Regions from separate parts of the Homo sapiens genome. Here region 2 is linked to region 1. The links are contacts of gene promoters, found by promoter capture Hi-C in blood cells and fetal thymus (Javierre and others, 2016). All regions are on one chromosome and are shown on one strand. Each heading gives the region's core, a stretch centred on a gene start or on the middle of the fragment in contact. The rest is flanking DNA. Distances are from core to core; before and after follow the strand shown. Region 1 holds the start of NDUFB7 (NADH:ubiquinone oxidoreductase subunit B7). Region 2 has its middle 4.0 kb from the start of ADGRE2.

Evidence for each region. The method cuts DNA at HindIII sites, captures the fragments that hold promoters and counts their contacts. A CHiCAGO score of 5 or more calls a contact.
Region 2: a fragment that was not itself captured here is called in contact with the fragment with the promoter of NDUFB7 in region 1 in 2 of 17 cell types (monocytes and megakaryocytes); the score reaches 7.2 in monocytes.

The regions. Positions count from the first base shown.
Region 1 is chr19:14,570,748-14,573,997 of GRCh38, reverse strand. It overlaps NDUFB7 (NADH:ubiquinone oxidoreductase subunit B7), which reads left to right and starts at 1,932. Exons shown (of 3, transcript NM_004146.6): 1 at 1,932-2,109. The coding sequence starts at 1,998. RefSeq lists an enhancer at 1,711-2,000. The HindIII fragment of the contact is 3,352 bases long and covers 815-3,250 here.
Region 2 is chr19:14,780,695-14,784,473 of GRCh38, reverse strand. No RefSeq gene overlaps it. Among named protein-coding and RNA genes, the nearest start is that of ADGRE2, 4.0 kb to the right of the region's middle. The HindIII fragment of the contact is 8,011 bases long and covers 1-3,779 here.

The sequences.
Region 1 (3,250 bases), core at 683-3,182:
TCCCAGCTACTCGGCAGGCTGAGGCAGGAGAATGGCGTGAACCCGGGAGGCGGAGCTTGCAGTGAGCCGAGATTGCGCCACTGCACTCCAGCCTGGGCAACGGAGCAAGACTCCGTCTCAAAAAAAAAAAAAAAAAAATTAGCTGGCCGTGATGGCACCCACCTGTAATCCCAGCTACTTAGGAGGCTAAGGCAGGAGAATCGCTTGAAACCAGAAGGCGGAGGTTGCGGTGAGCCGAGATCACACCACTGCACTCCAGCCTGGGCAACAAGAGTGAAACTCTGTCTCAAAAAAAAAAAAAAAAAAGAAAGAAAAAGAAAAGTCTCTATTGCCAGTTGTCTATTCTCAATAGCTTGCTTTTTTCACTTAATATATCAGCAGCCACTTCCCCATGTCAACACATAAAGATCTAGTTGAGTAATTCTCCCAAAGCTGGTCACTAGACCAGCAACATCACATCACCTGGGAATTTTTATAGACAGGGTCTCACTCTGTTGCCTAGGCTGGAGTGCAGTGATGGGATCACGGCTCACTGCAGCCTGGAACTCCTGGGCTCAAGTTATCCTCCTGCCTCAGCCTCCCGAGTAGCTGGGACTACAAGCGTGCACCACCACACCCAGCTTTTTTTTTTTTTTTTTTTTTTGTAGAGATAGAGTCTCCCTATATTGCCCAGGCTGGTCTCAAACTCCTGAGTTCAGGCGATCCTCCCATCTCAGCTTCCCAAAGCTCTGAGATTACAGGTGTGAGCCACTGCCCTGGCCCATATTTTTTTTTTTCCATTAGACTGTTTTTCTGTTCCATTAGACTGTAAGCTTGAAAGACAGGAACCACGTCTGCCTTTCTGTCTGACCACTGGACCCAGCATACCATACAGTAGATGCCTAATACATGCTTTGTCAGACTGGGGAAAAATATATATTAGATATTAATATTAGATATTAATATATTTTAAAATTGTATAAAGATTGCATATATATATATAATTTATTTGAAATTTCAGCTTTAAATAATTGTTTTTGACCAGGCACAGTGGCTTACGCCCATAATCCCAACACTTTGAGAGGCTGAGGCGGGAGGATCCCTGGAGCCCAAGAGTTCAAGGTTGCAGTGAGCTATGATTGTGCCACTGTGCTCCAGCCTGGGCGACAGAATGAGACCCTATCTCAAAAAATAATAATATAATAATAACTGTATTTATGAATAACTTTTATTTAAATTAAATTTATCAAAATCTTTCTTGGACAGGCACTGTGGCTCATGCCCGTAATCCCAGCAATTTGGGAGGCTGAGGCGGGGGAATCACTTGAGGTCAGGGGTTCGAGACCAGCCTGGCCAACTGGCGAAACCCCGTCTCTACTAAAAATACAAAAATTAGCTGGGGGTGGTGGCGGGCGCCTGTAATCCCAGCTACTCAGGAGGCTGAGGCAAGAGAATTTGAGCCCAGGAGGTGGAGGCTGCAGTGAGCCGAGATCGCGCCAATACACTCCAGTCTGGGCGACAGGTACTGTGTCTCCAAAAACAAAAAATTCTTAAAGTGACTTTATGCAAAATTACATACATTAACGATATAATAGATATCGTGCCTTTTTTAAGAGAAATTTGAATGTTTTCAAAGAAAAAACTTTTTGGAAAATGATATGAAAAATAATTTTAATATGTGCTTTAGCCTCGGGCTACCAGAAGAGCCCCAGATAGGGTCGAGGGAGGCCTCAGTCCCACACCGTCCCCTTCTGCCCCGCCCAGATGGATTTCCAGGCTCAGGGAAGTCCCCTCTCGGGTCCAACCATATCCTGCGAAGAGACACAGCACCTGTCCCGCCTCCGCCTGTCCGCGAGGTGACGCCAGGCGGACCGGAGCGATCCTCTGGAGTCCTTCATCTCTATGATCTCCGCAGCTGCCTAAATGACCCGGAAGCTGTGTCTGACTGAGGGGTCAGTGGTTCCGGGTAGGAGCTAGGTGACCCTCGGCTGCTGCAGGGATCTGCAGCGACTGCAGCCATGGGGGCCCACCTGGTCCGGCGCTACCTGGGCGATGCCTCGGTGGAGCCCGACCCCCTGCAGATGCCAACCTTCCCGCCAGACTACGGCTTCCCCGAACGCAAGGAGCGCGGTGAGGCCCAGTGCGCAGGCGCAGCCAGAGGGCGTGGGGCGCGGGTGCCTGAACACCTGGCACCCCAGGGCTGGCACCCCAGGGCTGGGCTCTAACCTCAGGTGTTGTATCTGGGTTTGGGTCTAGACTAGGAGTCCACAGGACGTGCATGACCCCACCTCAGTGTGGAGGCGTTCCAGCCCAAGGGCACGGCTTGAGCAAAAGCCAGGGAGCAAAAGTGAGGCGACAAGTGGGGGTTCGGGCAGGAATGCGACGCGCAGAGCTGGGTCGAGTCTTTTTTTTTTTTCTTTTGAGACGGAGTCTCGCTTTTTCTTTCAGGCTGGAGTGCAGTGGCTTGGTCTCGATTCACTGGCAGCCTCCACCTCCCGGGTTCAAGCGATTCTCCTGCCTCAGCCTCGCGAGTAGCTGTGATTACAGATGTGTACCACCATGCCCAGCTACTTTTTTGTATTGTTAGTAGAGACGGGGTTTCTCCTTGTTGGCCAGGCTGCTCTTGAACTCCTGACCTCAAGTGATCCGCCCGCCTCGGCCTCCCCAAGTGCTGGGATCGCAGAAGTCAGTCACCACGCCCGGCCTCGGGCCAAGTCTTGGGGGACGTGGGGAGTCATGGGAGGGCAGGGACACGTTCATTGTACCCCCTTCCTGATGTCACTGCAATTGTGGGGTATGCACAAGGAAATAAGGAAGATTCGAGCTGCAAATACTGTCCTGCAAAGTGCTTTGTTTTGCTTTGAGACGGGATCTTGCTCTGTTGCCCAGGCTGAGTGTAGTGGCACAATCACAGCTCATTGCATCCTCGACCTCCTGGGCTCAAATGATCCTCCCGCCTCAGCCTCCCGAGTAGCTGGGACTACAGGAGCGCCCCAGGATGCCAGACTGATTTTTTATTTTTTGTAGAGTTGGGGGTCTTGCTGTGTTGCCCAGGCTGGTCTCAAACTCCTGGGCTCAAACGATCCTTCTGCCCAGCCTCCCAAAGTGCTGGGATTGAAGATGTGAGCCACTACGCCCAGGATGGTTTTTTGGTTCGTGTGTTTGTTTTTGCTTTTAATGTAGTAATATCACAGGCATACCGAGCACCAGCTCTGGGCCACGTCCCACATTAGGCACCGCGGATACAGCAGGGAACTGGAGGGATGCAGGC
Region 2 (3,779 bases), core at 705-3,204, 210 kb before region 1:
GTAATCTCGGCTACTCGGGAGGCGAGGCAGGAGAGTAGCTTGAACTCAGGAGGTGGAGGTTGCAGTGAGCCAAGATCACGCCACTGCACTCCAGCCTGGGTGACAGAGAGAGACTCCATCTCAAAAAAATTAAATTAAATTAAATTTAAAAATAAACATAAGTATCCGTTTGAGTGTCTGCCTTCAGTTTTCTCAGGTGTATACCCAGGAGCAGAATGGCTGGATCACAGGGTCACTCTGCAAGTAACTTTTTGAGGAGCCGCAAACTGTTTTCTATGCCTGGAAAGAAGTGAAAGGGAGACCTCCATCCGAGGGACAGAGCCCTGGGGATGGGTTGATTCTCATCAATGCTTTCCCATCGTTTCTTTCTGGTACTGGCTGGGACCGTCAGTGCCATCCATGGCCCTAATTCTCGGGAACCCACAAGCCCACAACAGAAGAGGCCCAGAGGCATGCGGAGGGGTTGACCCGGGTGGGCACCCAGCCTGAATAAGCCCCCTTCCTCCCCTGGCCTTCCCCACCCATCGAAAGTCAAGGGAAGGATTCTGAGACCCCCATCCTCACAGTGCCCCCCAGAAGCCTGACCCCATCCTTATCGGGACATCGGCACCACCCTGCTCAGAAGATTTTGCAAAATGGGGAAGACACTGAGAGCTGCAAGAAGGTGATAAAAATGCCACCAAATGTCACACAGCGTTCCCAGCTCAGGGCTTCTTGTTGGCTGCCACCAGTTCCCCACCCCCACAGCCACCCCTGAGCTGTTCCCCTCCCCCACCCTACTCTCTCCTTTGCTTCCTCTAATCGCTTCTCCTTAAAACCTTTACACATTTTAAAATTCTTTTTTAAATATTTGTATAGAGCCTCAGGTTTATATAATTCATGAAACAATGTAATTCTTGGGACCATCGGTCTATCCATGATCAGCTTTATTTTACTTACTTATTTTCTGAGACAGAGTCTCACTCTGTGGCCCAGGCTGGAGTACAGTGGCGAGAGCTCACTGCAACCTTGAACTCCTGGGCTCAAGAGATCCTCCCACCTCAGCCCCGTGAGTAGCTGGGATTCCAGGCACATGCCATCACTCCTGGCTAATTTTTGCATTTTTTGGTAGAGATGGAGTTTTACCATGTTGCCCAGGCTGGTCTCGATCCCCTGGGCTCAAGGGATCCTCCCGCCTCGGCCTCCAAAAGTGCTGAGATCACAGGCATGAGCCACTCTGCCTGGCCGATTTTATCTTCCTTGATACAAACTCTTTTCAGAATTCTCTTTGTTTTTGCTTTGGTCCCTGATAAAATCACATGTGAATATAACCGCAAAACACCACATGCCTGCATTACATGGCGTTACGTTAAACAACCATCATTTTGGCTGGGCGCAGTGACTCATGCCCGTCTCTACTAAAAATACAAAAAAATTAGCCTGGCGTGGTGGTGTGCACCTGTAATCCCAGCCACTTGGGAGGCTGAGGCAGGAGAATGGCTTGAACGCGGGGGGCGGAGGTTGCAGTGAGCCGAGATTGTGCCACTGCACTCCTGCCTGGGCGACAGAGCAAGAGACTCTGTCTCAAGAAAACAAAACAAAACAGCCATCATTTTAGGAAACATTCATATGTGGAAACTACTATGTGTATTGTTCACAATTTGCGGGAATAAAGAACTTTGCTTTGCAAAAAATATGTAAATTAAAAAATAAAAGGGAAGGAAGGCATACCCATGAGCCTCCCTCATCACCAAGAACTGAGACATGACCTTGTTCCCATGCTCCCATCTTTATCTTGCTGATTACCACCACTCTGAATATTCTTTGCACCTTATTCCTTTGCTCAGTTACTTATTTTTTTATTTTATTTATTTTTGAGACAGGGTCTTGCTCTGTCACCCAGGCTGGAGTGCAGTGGTATGATCACAGCTCACTGCCACCTCGAATTCCTGGGCTCAAGCCATCCTCCCACTTCAGCCTCCTGAGTAGCTGGGACCACAGGTGCGAGTCACCACACCTGGCGAATTTTTTATTTTTATTGTAGAGATGGAGGTCTCATTATGTTGCCCAGGATGGTCTCGAACTCCTGGGCTCAAGCAATCCTCCCGTCTCAGCATCCCCAAGTAGCTGGGATTACGAGCATGAACCACTGCGCCCGGCCCAGCCTTGTTTATTTTTATTTATTTATTTATATTTATGTATTTTTATTTTATTTTATTTTATTTAGACGGAGTCTCACTCTTGTCTCCCAGGCTGGAGTGCAGTGGCGCAATCTCAGCTCACTGCAGCCTCTGCCTCCCGGGTTCAAGTGATTCTCTTGCTTCAGCCTCCCAAGTAGCTGGGATTACAGGCACCCACCACCATACCCGGCTAATTTTTGTACTTTTAGTACAGACGGGGTTTCACCATGTTGGCCAGGCTGGTCTTGAACTCCTGACCTCAGGTGATCTGCCCACCTCGGCCTCTCTGGGATTACAGGCATGAGCCACCGCGCCCGGCAGCCTTGATTATTTTTTAAAGTCTTCTTGCATATGTTTGTATCCTGAAACCAAATCTTTTATTATCTTTGTATCTCAGCTTTTTTGCAAGGTGGCTTTTTCCTATGGGGCTTTGGAGACTTTTTCAAGATTCTAGTATGGAATCTGTCATGCTGCAATTTAAGATTTTTTTCTCCTGACTTCACTCAGTTTTTAAATTTAAAAAAGGAGTGTGGCTAGGCATGGTGGCATGCACCTGTAACCCCAGCATTTTGGGAGGCTGAGGTGGGCGGATCACTTGAGGGTCAGGAGATCGAGACCAGCCTGGCCAACATGGTGAAACCCCGTCTCTACTAAAAAATTAGCTGGGCGTGGTGGTGTGTGCCTGTAATCCCAGCTTCTAGGGAGGCTGAGGCAGGAGAATTGCTTGAAGCTGGGAGGCGGAGGTTGCAGTGAGCCGAGATCTCGCCACTGCACTCTAGCCTGGGTAACAGGGCAAGATTCCGTCCCCCTCACACACACACAAAAAAAGTGAAAAGTTAGCCAGGCATGGCAACATATGCCTGTAGTCCCAGCTACTTGGTAGGCTGAGGCAGGAGGATCACATAAGCCCAGGACGTGCAGGTTGCCTGAAGCCATAATTGTGCCACCGCCACTGTGCTCCAGCGTGGGCAACAGAGACCCTGTCTCTAAAATAATAACAATAAATTATACTAATATAATTAATAATACCATTATTATTGTTGGTTGGATAATCTTGGGTTGCTTCTTTTTTTTTTTTTTTTTTTTTTGAAACGGAGTCTGGCTCTATCGCCCAGGCTGGAGTGCAATAACGCGATCTCAGCTCACTGCAACCTACATCTCCTGGGCTCAAGCAATTCTCCTGCTTCAGCCTCCCAAGCAGCTGGGATTACAGGTAATCTTGGGTTACTTCTTAGCTGAGCAACCTGGGGCCAGGGGCCCCAAACCCCCAGGTTCCAGTTCCCCTTTTGACAAATGAGGACCATGTTCGCACCCCCCATCATTGCAGAGGTTGTCCAGAAGCTGCAAAATAGGTCAGCAGGACTGAGACTTCTGGACAAAGAGAAGGCGGAGAAACATAGGCAGACACCCCGGCAGGGACCAGATCAGCGAGGCTGAAGGAGGCTTCCTTTAGCTGGGCGGCAGCGGAGTGGAGTGGCAGGAGTACTACTAATTTGCATGGTTTACCATATAGGGCCCCACTCAGCACAGGCTCTGTGCTGGTGCTCTGCAGAGAAAAAGACAAAAGTCACTCAGGGGGCTGACAGCCTAATGCGGCTCGAGGGCAGATGGTTGCTAGGG